5 separate regions of the Homo sapiens genome follow, and regions 1, 3, 4 and 5 are each linked to region 2. Evidence: promoter capture Hi-C in 16 types of primary human blood cells and fetal thymus (Javierre and others, 2016). All regions are on one chromosome and are shown on one strand. Each heading gives the region's core, a stretch centred on a gene start or on the middle of the fragment in contact. The rest is flanking DNA. Distances are from core to core; before and after follow the strand shown. Region 1 overlaps CORO7-PAM16 (CORO7-PAM16 readthrough). Region 2 holds the start of NUDT16L1 (nudix hydrolase 16 like 1). Region 3 overlaps TFAP4 (transcription factor AP-4). Region 4 has its middle 4.1 kb from the start of SEC14L5. Region 5 has its middle 20 kb from the start of GLIS2.

The links. Contacts are between HindIII fragments. The CHiCAGO score rates a contact against its expected background, and 5 or more counts as called.
Region 1: a contact is called between a fragment that was not itself captured here and the fragment with the promoter of NUDT16L1 in region 2, in 1 of 17 cell types (naive CD4 T cells). The highest score is 5.2, in naive CD4 T cells.
Region 3: a fragment that was not itself captured here is called in contact with the fragment with the promoter of NUDT16L1 in region 2 in 2 of 17 cell types (naive CD8 T cells and total CD8 T cells); the score reaches 6.0 in naive CD8 T cells.
Region 4: a contact is called between a fragment that was not itself captured here and the fragment with the promoter of NUDT16L1 in region 2, in 7 of 17 cell types (neutrophils, endothelial precursors, M2 macrophages and 4 more). The highest score is 11.6, in neutrophils.
Region 5: a contact is called between a fragment that was not itself captured here and the fragment with the promoter of NUDT16L1 in region 2, in 1 of 17 cell types (neutrophils). The highest score is 5.6, in neutrophils.

The regions. Positions count from the first base shown.
Region 1 is chr16:4,343,719-4,346,418 of GRCh38, forward strand. All of the region lies in intron 27 of CORO7-PAM16 (CORO7-PAM16 readthrough), which reads right to left. The region is part of intron 1 of PAM16 (presequence translocase associated motor 16); the gene reads right to left. Among named protein-coding and RNA genes, the nearest start is that of PAM16, 6.3 kb to the right of the region's middle. RefSeq lists a silencer at 1,216-1,416. The HindIII fragment of the contact is 3,035 bases long and covers 1-2,700 here.
Region 2 is chr16:4,692,283-4,694,982 of GRCh38, forward strand. It overlaps NUDT16L1 (nudix hydrolase 16 like 1), which reads left to right and starts at 1,280. Exons shown (of 3, transcript NM_032349.4): 1 at 1,280-1,597; 2 at 1,696-1,956; 3 at 2,676-2,700. The coding sequence starts at 1,445. RefSeq lists enhancers at 851-940, 1,192-1,699, 1,700-2,207 and silencers at 1,131-1,490, 1,601-2,100. The HindIII fragment of the contact is 13,448 bases long and covers 1-2,700 here.
Region 3 is chr16:4,258,140-4,260,839 of GRCh38, forward strand. TFAP4 (transcription factor AP-4) reads right to left here. Exons shown (of 7, transcript NM_003223.3): 5 at 2,316-2,456; 6 at 1,951-2,106; 7 at 1-110. Among named protein-coding and RNA genes, the nearest start is that of LINC01569, 5.7 kb to the left of the region's middle. The HindIII fragment of the contact is 217 bases long and covers 1,315-1,531 here.
Region 4 is chr16:4,952,916-4,955,615 of GRCh38, forward strand. No RefSeq gene overlaps it. Among named protein-coding and RNA genes, the nearest start is that of SEC14L5, 4.1 kb to the right of the region's middle. The HindIII fragment of the contact is 2,451 bases long and covers 200-2,650 here.
Region 5 is chr16:4,294,590-4,297,289 of GRCh38, forward strand. No RefSeq gene overlaps it. Among named protein-coding and RNA genes, the nearest start is that of GLIS2, 20 kb to the right of the region's middle. RefSeq lists enhancers at 1-506, 2,146-2,700. The HindIII fragment of the contact is 3,103 bases long and covers 1-2,700 here.

The sequences.
Region 1 (2,700 bases), core at 1-2,500, 350 kb before region 2:
AACCTTTACTTTACCAACGGGGAAACAGATCTGTCCTAATTCTCCCAAGTCCGAAGACTTTAAGTCCATTCCATTCAATAAAACAAACTTACTATGCAAACCTGTTTCCATCTTCAAGGAGCTAAAAGCCCACTAGGAGGGTATTTAAACACACTATGGACCAAATCATGAGGGAGAGTCAGGCTCGTTCATTTGTGCAGCCATTGGTTCACCCATTCATTCAAACATCTGCTGAGAGTCTACTCTGCTCAGCACTTGAGCACAAAGCTACACAGAACCTGGTCCCTGCCCCGAGTCAGAGCACACTGCTGGCCTGGCAGGGAACCCCACTGTCACACACCAGGCTGAACATGCCGGAACACTGCACGTGTGATTCCATGCCCCGCAGAGGCCCTGGGGACTCACTAAGATGTGAGCGGAAGCAACAGAGTCGAGGGAAAACTCAAGACTGAGATGGGATTCGGTGAGAGGAGGGGGTTCTGTGTGAGAGGAGGGCGTTCCGTGAGAGGAGGGGGTTCCGTGAGAGGAGGGGGTTCCGTGAGAGGAGGGGGTTCTGTGAGAGGAGGGGGTTCTGTGTGAGAGGAGGGGGTTCTGTGAGAGGAGGGGGTTCCGTGAGAGGAGGGGGTTCTGTGTGAGAAGAGGGGGTTCTGTGTGAGAGGAGGGGGTTCTGTGTGAGAGGAGGGGGTTCTGTGAGAGGAGGGGACTGTGTGACAGGAGGGGGTTCTCTGAGAGGAGGGGACTGTGTGAGAGGAGGGGGTTCTGTGAGAGGAGGGGGTTCTGTGAGAGGAGGGGGTTCTGTGAGAGAAGGGGACTGTGTGAGAGGAGGGGGTTCCGTGAGAGGAGGGGGTTCTGTGAGAGGAGGGGGTTCCGTGAGAGGAGGGGATTGTGTGAGGGGGGGTTCTGTGAGAGGAGGGGGTTCCGTGAGAGGAGGGGGTTCCGTGAGAGGAGGGGGTTCTGTGAGAGGAGGGGGTTCCGTGAGAGAAGGGGGTTCCGTGAGAGGAGGGGGTTCCGTGAGAGGAGGGGGTTCTGTGAGAGGAGGGGGTTCCGTGAGAGGAGGGGGTTCTGTGAGAGGAGGGGATTGTGTGAGAGGAGGGGATTGTGTGAGAGGAGGGGGTTCTGTGAGAGGAGGGGGTTCCGTGAGAGGAGGGGGTTCCTCCTGGGCTGGGCTTTGCAGGGTAGGAAGAATCATGATGGAAATACTAGGGCTTTCTAGGCAGAGGGACTGGGTTGAGCCAAAACTGGCAGGAGAGAAGGCAGAAGGGAGTTCCTGCGAGCAGCCAATAGCCTAGGCTGGCCTGGGAAAGACTGGGAATCTGGCGGATGACATGGAAAGATGCACAGATCTTTGTGAAACAAAGCGATTATATATAGACAGCACATACAAAGGATCTTGTGACTGCAAAGCCGTAGACGCAGGGGGGTGGCGCGGGCTGGAGGCAGCTCGGCATAGGTTGAAAGCTCATGTGGCACAGCCGAGTGACTTTCCCTTTCTTCCTAGTGCTTTTCTGTAGATTTGCCTTCAGTCAACAAGTATCAACTGAGTCCACACACCAGGCACGGTGCCAAACACGTTCAATTCATTGTGCCGTTTAATTCTGACAACTCAGGGGTGGGGGACTGCTGACTGGCCCGAGGACGTAACAGCAGGTGCCTCGGAGGCAGATCGGAAACCCAAGGCTGGTGCTATCTGTCACAGCAGTCACTACGCAGGGTCCCGGGGTCTGAAGGTAGGGCACCTGGGCAAGCCGACAAGTATCAAGAACCCAACCCCGAGGCCAGAGGGGCTTGCTCCAGATTCCAGTGGATTCGACTCCAGAGCTGGCCTTGTTCAGCCTCCGAGGACCTGCTCTTTCCTTAACAGGTGGGATGTCATTATGGGCCATTAGGGGAATGAACAAACAAGTGGGTTAAGATTTCAAAAGTAGGTGGAAACTTCATAACTTCTGGATTTCACAGCAGAAAGAGCCCAGAGAAGACCCTCCTGTGATCACAGCGAGGGGCAGGGCTGTGGCTGTACTGCAGATGAGGGAGGGTCAGGGATGCACCTGATGACACCTGCGGTCTCACCTGACTTCGCCTCCTTCCTAAAGCCCCTCCCGAGTGGAACAGGAGGCTCAGGGATGGGATGCTGGTGCTGTCTGAAGGACAGAGGTGAAAGTCAGAGGGTCCCCTCGGCTTGAAACACGGCTCAGGTCTCAGACTACCCCTCACACCAACAGCCTTCGGTCCCTCTGCTGCCATCGTACAGCCTTGCAATCACTTGTTTACTTTTCTGCCAAGGCCAATGACTGTTGCAAAATAATGAACGGTAAGAGCTGAGGTCATAACTGGGGAGCTTCCCCGACCATCCCCTGCACACTTCAAACCAAAGCGGCGTGGTGGCCTGTGGCTTCAGCTGCCTAGAGCTGCAGGGCAGAGGGGGGCTGGCCTGCAAAGTTTCAGCAGACTGGACGGCCCATTGAGGCCAGCAAGGTTCCTATAGGAGGCATCTCTGAGAAGACGCAGTGTAGTGTAATGGTTACACCTGCAGGCTTTGGGATCACCTGTGTGCAAAAATCCCAGCTATCTGACATAGACACGTTCTCAACTCCTTTGAGCAACCCAGTTTGCTTACCTGTAAAATGTGGCCACCAATAAAGCTGAGATAATGCCTGTCAAATGCCTGGCACACAGCCTAATGGTACAGCAGGTGCTCAATAA
Region 2 (2,700 bases), core at 30-2,529:
TGGGTGAGAGGACCCTTCCCCTCGCTGCCCTCTCGCCTTCTCACATGGTCGCTCACTCTGGAATCTGGACTTCCCCTGCTGCTTGCAGCTGTCCCATGTGACCCCTGACCCACTGGTGGCCACAGGAGGAGAGAGAGGTGCCCTCTCTGGGTCCTTATTCTCCACATCTGAGGCCACCACGGACCTAACAGGTGAGTTTCCAATGCCCACCCTCTCCCTCTCTCTTCTCCTGCCTGCCTCCACTGAAGGCAGCCTTCTCTGTGCCAGCGAGCTCGGCCTCACTGCACGGCTCTCCCGAGGCTGTGCCCCAGCCCTGGGCACCCATGCTGTGAGTGCAGGCAGGGGGGTTCATGTGCTCAGCAAATCCATTCCCCTGGTGGGGAGGAAAGTGGCCCTGGGCCCTGCTGCTGGTGAGGTGAGCCTTGCCATCATGGAGTTCAGGGCACCTCGCTCTGCCTTGGGCTGTTTCGGATGCTTCTGAGCCCCAGAGACATCTCCAGTACAAACACAAGGTAAGTGGTAAGTACCTCAGGCCCTTGTGGAATCGGGATTCTGCCTCTGTCATCAACTGCCAGTTGTACTTAGGCAAGTTATGTCCCTCTCTGAGCTCCAAGTTCCTCATCGTAAATTGGGGAAACCCCTCTTCCCCCCACAGTACCTGGCACAGGGTGCCCGGCTTGGAGGATGCTGGAAAGGTCCAGCCCCGGAATTTAAGTCACTTTCTGCCCAGCAAGCTGGGTCCACAGAGCCCCAGAGCTCCCGGTCGTCCGCCCTGACCCAGCGTGGACTCGGGGACTGGGGCACTCAAGCCCTGCCAAGCCCTGCTCCCCGTGCTGTCCTGGATCGAGCCTGCCAGCAGGGTGGCTAGGTCGGGACAGCTGTCGTGCATGGCAGGCGAAGGCCATCTCCCTCCGGGCTTGGGTCCGGTGGCGCTGGCGGAGCAAGGCTCCGGGGCATCTCTGGCTCGTGTGGTCGTGCCAAGGGTGCCATTGCGGATGGACGGGGCCATGCGGGCCGGGTCGGCCTCCTGGGGAGAAACGGGTGGGCGCAAGGGGATCGGCGCCATCGAGGGTGGAGAAACCGCAGGGAATTTCGGCTGTCCGCTTTGGGGCGCCAAGGAAGATGTTCGTCGCCCACAATGTCAACCTTGAGCCACCACGGCACCGACCAGTCGTCTAGGCTCTCCCGTCGGAGGCGGGGCCGCCGCCCAGGGTGTGCGACTATTGGGTGACGGCTGACGCGCACCGCCCTCCTTTGCACACCGCCCGCAGCACCTCTCGACGACGCACCGCGGCGCTGCGAGGGGCTCGGTCCCGGGGCGCGCCGGCGATTGGCGGGGGAACCGGACCCGGGGGCGCGGCCGCCCGCGGATTGGCGAGGCACGGCGGGGGCGGGCTCGCGCATGCTCTTAAGTGGCAGCGGCGGGGACGGGGTCAGTGCCAAGATGTCGACGGCGGCGGTTCCGGAGCTGAAGCAGATCAGCCGGGTGGAGGCGATGCGCCTAGGGCCGGGCTGGAGCCACTCGTGCCACGCCATGCTGTACGCCGCCAACCCTGGGCAGCTCTTCGGCCGCATCCCCATGCGCTTCTCGGTGCTGGTGAGGACGGGCGAGGGCGCGGGCGAGGGTGCCGGCGCGGGCGGGCCCGGGCGGGGGCGTCCGTCGACCCCGCGGCTGTGACCCGCGCTCCCTTGCAGATGCAGATGCGTTTCGACGGGCTGCTGGGCTTCCCCGGGGGCTTCGTGGACCGGCGCTTCTGGTCGCTGGAGGACGGCCTGAACCGGGTGCTGGGCCTGGGCCTGGGCTGCCTGCGCCTCACCGAGGCCGACTACCTGAGCTCGCACCTGACCGAGGGCCCACACCGCGTCGTGGCGCACCTGTACGCGCGGCAGCTGACGCTGGAGCAGCTGCACGCCGTGGAGATCAGCGCGGTGCACTCGCGCGACCACGGCCTGGAGGTGGGGCCGCCGCCCGGGCCCCGCCCCCCGCCCCGGGGTTTGGCTCTGGCCCCGTGGAAGGCACCGATGGGTAACACGTCTCCTGAGGGTCCCCTGGCCGGGCTGGGTCGGGTGTCGCTGTCTCCAGCAATGGGGTGGGGAGAGGGGTCTGGGGCTGGGAGGCCGGGAAAGGAGGGGCGGGGGTGGGGGCCGGCGCTGGGGCTCCCTCAGGGCTGTGTTACATCCGCCTTGCTGCCTGCCATTGCCAATCCTGGGAGTGGGGGAGTGGGATCGGTGGGGAGGAAGGGATGGGGGAGGAGCGGGGATTGCTTGGGGAGTTGGGAAACTTGAGCACAGCGGGGGTTGTAAAACTTGGGAACCTCATGTTGGGCGTGAAGGCTCTTGGGATTTGTACTTTGTGGTCTGGAAGGGCTGGACTGCGGGTGTTCAGGCTTCGTTGGGTGGACGGGGGGAGCATGGGGTGCGGACCCCGGGGTGGGGTGGCCTGGGTACGAGGGGGGGGAGTGCATGGGGTCAGCCTCCACACTTGCTTGGGGAGGAGGGGGCTGCACTGCTCCGAGGGAGCTGGCTGGCTTCTGCCAGGCCCTGCGTGGGTCTCCCATTAAGTCCTTGGCAAAGCTGGCTGCTCATACCCTGGCCTCATAGCTTCCAGGCCCCTCCTGCTGGAGGTGCCATTGTGTGGCAGGCCTGGCCCCAACCCCTACCTCCTGTCTGCGCAGGTGCTGGGCCTCGTGCGGGTCCCGC
Region 3 (2,700 bases), core at 173-2,672, 430 kb before region 2:
TCAGAGGTGGGGGCCTCCGGGCAGCTGCGGACAGGCTTCACGATGACAGCTCGCCGCTGCTCCTCCTCCAGCTCCTGCTTTTCCTGGGTGCCCTCGATGTGCTGGATTGCCTGGACAGGGACGAACCACTGAGAAGGCTCGGCCGGGGATACATGGCCAGCCAGGAGACAGTGGGGGCTCTCAGCCAGCCACTGTCACCCCCAAAACACATAGCCCAGAAAAAAGCCTGGCAAAGCAGCAGGGGAGGCCCGCTAGAGTACAGGAAAAACAAACTCCTTTTACTTTTTTTTTGGAGACAAGCTCTCGCTATATCACCCAGGCTAGAGTGCAGTGGCATGATCATAGCTTACTGCAGTCAGACTCCTGGGCTCCAGCGATCCTCCTACTGCTCCCTCCCTAGTAGCTGGAACCACAGGGGTGCGCCACCATCCCCAGCTAACTTCTGTATTTTTGGTAGAGACGAGGGGGTTCTTGCTATGTTGCCCAAGCTGATCTCGAACTCCTGACCTCAGGCAATCTTCCTGCCTCAACCTCCAAAAGTCCCGGGATTACAGGCATAAGCCACCACGCCTGACCCAGGAACAAACTTTCAAAACCCCTCTGTTAAGTTGAAAAATCCATTCTGGGAAGATGACAGTCCCAGTGCTGCTTAGAAATTATATTATATGTATCAGCCAGGCGCAGTGGCTCACGCCTGTAATCCCAACACTTTGGGAGGCCAAGACGGGAGGATCACCTGACGTCAGGAGTTCGAGACCAGCCCCTCAACAGAGGCCAGAAGCCTACTAAAAATACAAAATTTGCCAGGCGTGGTGGCACATGCCTATAATCCCAGCTACTTGGGAGGCTGAGGCAGGAGAATCACTTGAACCTGGGAGGAGGAGGTTGCGATGAGCTGAGATAGCACCATTGCACTCCAGCCTGGGCAATAAGAGCGAAACTCTATCTCAAAAAAAAAGAAAAAAAAAGAAATAATATGGACCTTTCATATGTTTTTGTTTGTTTGTTTTTTGAGAAAGAGTCTCACCGTGTCACCCAGGCTGGAGTTCAGTGGTGCAATCTCAGCTCACTGCAACTTCCACCTCCCATGTTCAAGCGATTCTCCTGCCTCAGCCTCCCGAATAGCTGGGATTACAGGCGTGCACCACCACGTCAGGCTAATTTTTGTATTTTTAATAGAGATGGGGTTTTCACCATGTTGGCCAGGCTGGTCTCGAACTCCTGACCTCAAGTGATCCACCCACTTTGGCCTCCCAAAGTGCTGGGATTGCAGGTGTGAGCCACCACACCCGGCCATATGTTTATGTATTTTAAAGCTTGCCTATTAACTTATTAAAGGCGTTTGTTATTAATTGTATTACACAATTTGCAAAGTTTATGAGCAATTAAAATTCGAGGAGATTGATGGATTTTTTTTCCTGTTTTGGCTTTTTTGGTTATTTATTTATTATTTACTGATTTCTGATCTTGGGCTCCTCAAGGGGCCCTGTTCAAGGGTGAATGCAACTGTAACTTCAGGCTTGACCCACAAAGCTTCCTCCTCTGTAGGAGGCCCAACTATCACCAGCCCTGCCACCTGTATCTCCATCCAGGTCCTAGGAGATGGAGCTGAGACAATGTTCCGGACCAACCCAAGAGCTGGATGCAGGAACTCTGTAACCAGGGGGCTCTGGGAGCAAAGGACCCTCTCCGGAAACCCCATATTGAGGGAAGGGACAGTCTTCCTGGCCAACTCCTCCTACTGGCGTGGTAGGCCCTGCCCCGATCTCTGGCCCTCACATTCTCCACTTGCAGATCCAGGGACGGGGCCCCCCAAGGCTTCCAGCCCTCCACCCCTTCCCACACAAGCACCATCTTCCTCCGCTTCTGCCCCTCTTTTCCAGTCTCCCCTAAAGAGCCTGTTCCCGGAGTATGACCCCCACAAGCTGCCCCTTTCTCAAGCTCAGGTACCTGCACGATGGTGTCCAGATTTTGCCGGGATGTGGAAACAGAGTTGATGACCGAGGAGGGGCCCATGGTGACGACATTGATGTGGTGGGAGGGAGGAGGAGGCGGTGCTGGCACGATCACCGTGGGGTGGTGGGTGGGGGCCGGAGGGGGCAGAAGCTGCAAGACAGAGGCCCTCAGCCTTTCTCTCAAGGCTTCTCTTGGCCCATCCACCTCCCTTTCATGCAGAGCTGGCCAATGTATAACTGCCTCTGCCCCTTTATATTAAGAAGCAGAGAGGACGTGGCCTAGGGAGAGGCTTCCGCCATTCAAGATCACCTGTCCCCTTCCCGGTCCCCAGAGCCCACTCCCGGGCGCCTCCTGCTCACCTGGGTCCGCAGCTGCTGCTGTTCCCGCTCCAGCTTCTCCTGGTGCAGCAGCCTCACCTGTTCCTGCTGCTGCTGCAGCTGCACCTGCTGCGCAATCACCTTGAGCTTTTCCGGGTACATGTGGGCCTCCAGCGAGCGCACCTGGAGGCAGGACAACCTGGGCTCAGGGCCAAGGCCGGGAGCACACCCTGCCCTGTCAGTCTCACAGCAGCTCATTCACTCCTGCTGAAAACCCTAGCACAGGGCGGGCCCCTCTCAACAGAGGCCAGAAGCCTTTCCAGAGCCCTTCAGCCCCCGGCTCCTCTCGCCTCCCACCTCGGCCTCCACTGGACCATGCTCCCTCCTGCCCGAGTCTTTGCCTATGCTATTCCCTCTGCCGGGAACA
Region 4 (2,700 bases), core at 175-2,674, 260 kb after region 2:
CATGCTTGTAATCCCAGCACTTTGGGAGGCCGAGGCGGGTGGATGACAAGGTCGGGAGATCGAGACCATGGTGGCTAACACGGTGAAACCCCGTCTCTACTAAAAATACAAAAAAATTAGCCGGGCGTGGTGGTGGGCGCCTGTAGTCCCAGCTACTCGGGAGGCTGAGGGAGGAGAATGGCATGAACCTGGGAGGCGAAGCTTGCAATGAGCCGAGATCACGCCATTGCACTCCAGCCTGGGCGATAGAGTGAGACTCTGTCTCAAAAAAAAAAAAAAAAAAAAAAGAGGGGACATTGAGGCAACAAAGCTAGGGGGTGGCAGGGTCAGAACGCACATCAAGGTTGGTCTGACTCCTGTACCCGCCCCAAGTGCCCGGCCACCTGACCCCTCCCACAGGGCCACCCCTCCCATCCCCTGGGCCACCCTCCTCCCGCTGTGTTCCATTCTCTCCTTTGGGCTTCATGTAGCAGTTGGTGGAGCCCAGAAGTCTTTGTGAAGTGAATGGACTTGGGTGCCCGGCTGGGGGTCAAGGTGGGTGGGTCCTGGCTGTGTAGCCCCCTGGGTCAGACTGCCTCAGACTCAGCCTCTGCTCAGTCAAAGCTGCTCCCATGACCAGGACTGTTCCACAGAGTTGTGCAGGTTACAACCTATACACCTGTACGTAACAGCCCTGCCAACCATCATGATAGCCCTGGAGATTCCCAAATCCAGGAGGCCTCAGGGCTCTGCTTCGAGAAGGGGCAAGAAGCAACACAACGTAGAGGCCACCCGGGACGAATGAGATGTCCCCCAGGAAGCAGATAAACAGATGGATGGTTTCCAGGGGCTGCGGGAAGGGAGGAAGGAGGAGTGACAGCTTCATGGGTATGAGTTTCCTTTTGGGGTGATGAAAATGTTCCAAAACTAGAAAGTGGTGCTGGCTGTACGTGCATCTTGTGAATATACCAAAAGCCAGAGAATTGTACACTAAGAAATGGTTAAAATGGTAACTTTTGTGTTATGTGCATTTTTTTTTTTTGAGATAGAGTCTCGCTCTGTCACCCAGGCTGGAGTGCAATGACATGATCTTGGCTCACTGCAACCTCCACCTGCTGGGTTCAAGCAATTCTCCTGCCTCAGCCTCCTGAGTAGCTGGGATTACAGGCATGCAGCACACTAAGAAATGGTTAAAATGGTAACTTTTGTGTTATGTGCTTTTTTTTTTTTTGAGATGGAGTTTCTCTCTTGTTGCCCAGGCTGGAGTGCAATGGCATGATCTTGACTCACCGCAACCTCTGCCTCCCGGGTTCAAGCGATCCTCCTGCCTCAGCCTCCCCAGTAGCTGGGATTTCAGGCATGCATCACCACACCCAGCTAATTTTGTATTTTTAGTAGAGACGAGGTTTGTTCATGTTGATCAGGCTGGCCTCGAACTCCCAACCTCAGGTGATCTGCCCACCTCGGTCTCCCAAAGTGCTGGGATTACAGGCATGAGCCATCGTGCCCAGCTGATTTTTTTCTTTTTTTTTTTTTTTTTTGAGATGGAGTCTCACTCTGTTGCCCAGGCTGGAGTGCAGTTGTGTGATCTCAGCTCACTGCACCCTCCACCTCCCAGGTTCAAGTGATTCTCCTACCTCAGCCTCCTGAGTAGCTGGGATTACAGGCATGCGCTACCATGCCTGGCTAATTTTTTCATTTTTAGTAGAGACAGGTTTTTGCCATGTTGTCCAGGCTGGTCTCGAACTCCTGACCTCAGGTGATCCGCCCACCTCGGCCTCCCAAACTGTTGGGATTACCGGCATGAGCCACTGTGCTCGGACCATTTTGCCACAATAAAATTAAGCTGGGGACCGTACCCTGCTTACTGCATCTTCTTCAGCTTCAGAGCCATCCCAGGGCCCATTATGTATTCCAGGGTCTTAACCCCCATTCTCAATGTCACACTGAGCCATTCAACTCAGGACATTCCCAGCAGGATGCCTTCCAGGAACATCTGCCTTTGGATGGGGTCCAGAGTTTTACTCAAACAAATGCATCACTAATGGTTGAATCTTCTCTGGCAGTGGCCCATCTGCTGGGAAGACATTCAGAGACATGAGGTGGTTTCTGGGGTTCCCAAAACCCACCTCCACAAAAGGCAGCATTGGCTGGGTCATTCTTGCAGGGCAGGTGGGAAGCAGCAGATAGAGGCTAAAGATCCTGCCCTGGGACTGAGTTCATGCCCAGCACCCCTGGGGAATCAGCCTATCCTTGCAGCGCCTTCTTGTCCTGGAGCCAGGGTGCCTGGAGATCTTGCAGTTCAGGGCTTGGAAATCACATCTTCCCGGAGCATCAGCTGCAGCTCTAGGAGAAGAAGTCATTGGAGAACGAGAGTCCTGGGTATGAGTTCCTTACTAGCTGTGTGGCCTTGGGCAAGTTATTCAGTCTCTCTGTGCCTTGTGCCTTAGTTTCCCTACGTGTAAGATGAGGATTAAAATAGTTTTGACTGTATATGGGCTTTTAATTGAGATGAAAGCCACGTAACAGAAAATTAATCATTTTAATATTGTGGCCCCAATTCAGTGGCATGTGCATTTGCAACGTTGTGCAACCACCACCTCTATCACATTCCAAGACATTTTCATTGCTCTGGGGTTGCTTTGAGGATTAAATGCATTCGTGTTTGTAAAGCTTTAGAATGGTGCTAGGTATAGTAAGCGCCAATGGAGTGTCAACAAG
Region 5 (2,700 bases), core at 198-2,697, 400 kb before region 2:
ACAGGCACCTCAGGGATGCATAAGCACCAACCAGAGAGGTGAGAGGTACCAGGCACAGCGCGAGTGCCTTATCCATACTCTTTTTTTTTTTTTAATAAAAAAAATAGGCCGGGCGCAGTGGCTCACACCTGTAATCCCAGCACTTTGGGAGGCCAAGGCAAGCGGATCACCTGAGGTCAGGAGTCGGACACCAGCCCGGCCAATACGGTGAAACCCTGTCTCTACTAAAAATACAAAAATTAGCTGGGCGTGGTGATGCACGCCTGTAGTCCCAGCTACGCGGGAGGCTGAGGCAGAAGAATCGTTTGAACCTGGGAGGTGGAGGTTGCAGTGAGCTGAGATCATGCCACTGCACTCCAAAATGGGTGACAGAGCAGGACTCTGTCTCAAAAAAAAAAAAAAAAAAAAAAGCTGGGCACGGTGGCTCATGCCTGTAATCACAGCACTTTGGGAGGCCAAGGCAGGCGGGTTGCTTGAGGCCAGGAGTTGGAGAGCAGCCTGGGCAATATGGTGAAACCCCATCTCTACTCAAAATACAAAAATCAGCTGGGGGTGGTGGTGGGCGCCCGTAATCCTAGCTAGTTGGGAGACTGAGGCAGGAGAATCACTTGAACCCAGGAGGCAGAGGTTGCAGTGAGATGAGATTGTGCCATTGCACTTCAGCCTGGGGGACAGAGGGAGACTCTGTCTCAAAAATAGATAGATTAGATAGATAGATAGACAGACAGACAGACAGACAGATAAAGGCCGGGTGTGGTGGCTCATGCCGCCCTGTAATCCCAGCATTTTGGGAGGCTGAGGCGGGCCGATCACTTGAAGTCAGGAGTTTAAGACCAGCCTGGCCAACATGACGAAACTCCATCTCTACTAAAAACGAGCAAAAATAGCCGGGCGTGGTGGTCCACGCCTGTAATCCCAGCTACTCCAGAGGCTGAGGCACAAGTATCGCTTGAACTTGGGAGGCAGAGCTTGCAATGAGCAGAGATTTCACCATTGCACTCCAGCCTGAGCGACAGAGCGAGACTGTGTCTCAAAAATAAAAAGGAACAAGGTGCTGATCTATGCTACAATATAGACGAACCTTGAAACATTAAGTGAAAAGCCAATCACAAGAGACCACCACTTTATTTGAAATGCCCAGAATAGGGAAATCCATAGAGGCAGAAAACAGGCTGGTGCGTTGCCAGGGCCTGGGAGGAAAGAGGAATGGGGAGTGGCTGCTTCTTGAGTATAGGGTTTCTTTTTGGGATGGTGAAAATGTTCTGAAATTAGATGTTGATGATGGTTGCACGACTCTGAATACACTAAAAACCACTGATTGTACACTTCAAAGAGGTGAATTTTACGGTATGTGAATTATATCTTATTTTTATTTTTTAATCTTTTTTTGAGATGGAGTCTCACTCTGTCACCCAGGCTGGAGTACAGTGGTGCGATCTCAGCTCACTGCAACCTCCACCTCCCTGGTTCAAGCGATTCTCCTGGCTCAGCCTCCCGAGTAGCTGAAACTACAGGCACCCACCACCACACCCGGCTAATTTTTTTAGTAGAGATGGGGTCTGGGGTTTCACCGTGTTAGCCAGGATGGTCTCGATCTCCTCAACTCATGATCCGCCCGCCTTGGCCTCCCAAAGTGCTAGGATTACAGGCGTGAGCCACTGTGCCCGGCCAAATTTTTGTATTTTTAGTAGAGACGGGGTTCACCATGTTGGCCAGGTTGGTCTCGAACTCCTGACCTCAGGTGATCTGCCGGTCTCAGCCTCCCAAAGTGCCGGGATTACAAGCATGAGCCACTGCTCCCAGCTTGATTTTATTTTTTATTTTTATTATTATTAACTAATTTATTTATTTTAGACAGAGTCTCTCTCTGTCACCCAGGCTGGAGTGCAGTGGCGCGAACTTGGCTCACTGCAAGCTCTGCCTCCTGGGTTCACGCCATTCTCCTGCCTCAGCCTCTGGAGTAGCTGGGACTACAGGCGCCCGCCACCACACCTGGCTAATTTTTTGTATTTTTAGTAGAGATGGGGTTTCACTGTGTTAGCCAGGATGCTCTCGATCTCCTAACCTTGTGATTTGCCTGCCTCGGCCTCCCAAAGTGCTGGGATTACAGGCGTGAGCGACTGCGCCCGGCCTATTTTTATTTTTTGAGACAGAGTCTCACTCTTGTCACCCAGGCTGGAGTGCAATGGCGCAATTTCGGCTCACTGCAACCTCTGCCTCCCAGGTTTAAGCAGTTCTCCTGTCTCAGCCTCCCGAGTGGTTGGGATTACAGGCACGCACCACCATGCCAAGCTAATTTTTATATTTTTAGTAGAGATGGGGTTTCGTCATGTTGGCCAGGCTGGTCTCAAACTCCTGACCTCAGGTAATCCACCCACCTTGGCCTCCCAAAGTGCTGGGATTACAGGTGTGAGTCACCCTTCTGACCCACTCCCAGGTTCCAGGAACAAGAATACAGGTCCTCTAATGGACAAAGCTCATTCAGGGACCCTCCAATGTGAATCGACCAGACACAGTCCTCATGTGTCATGGGAGGGGGACAGGCAGCAGCTCCTGGAGCGGAAGGACGCCTGGCCCCTCCTCCGGCCCCAGATGCAGCTGCAGGTACAGGGAGGGCCTCCCAGGGCAGGCCAGAGCCTGCAGGCCCCCAGCTGCAGCCCCAGCTGGGACCAGGCTTCTAACCTCACCCCTTTCTTGCTC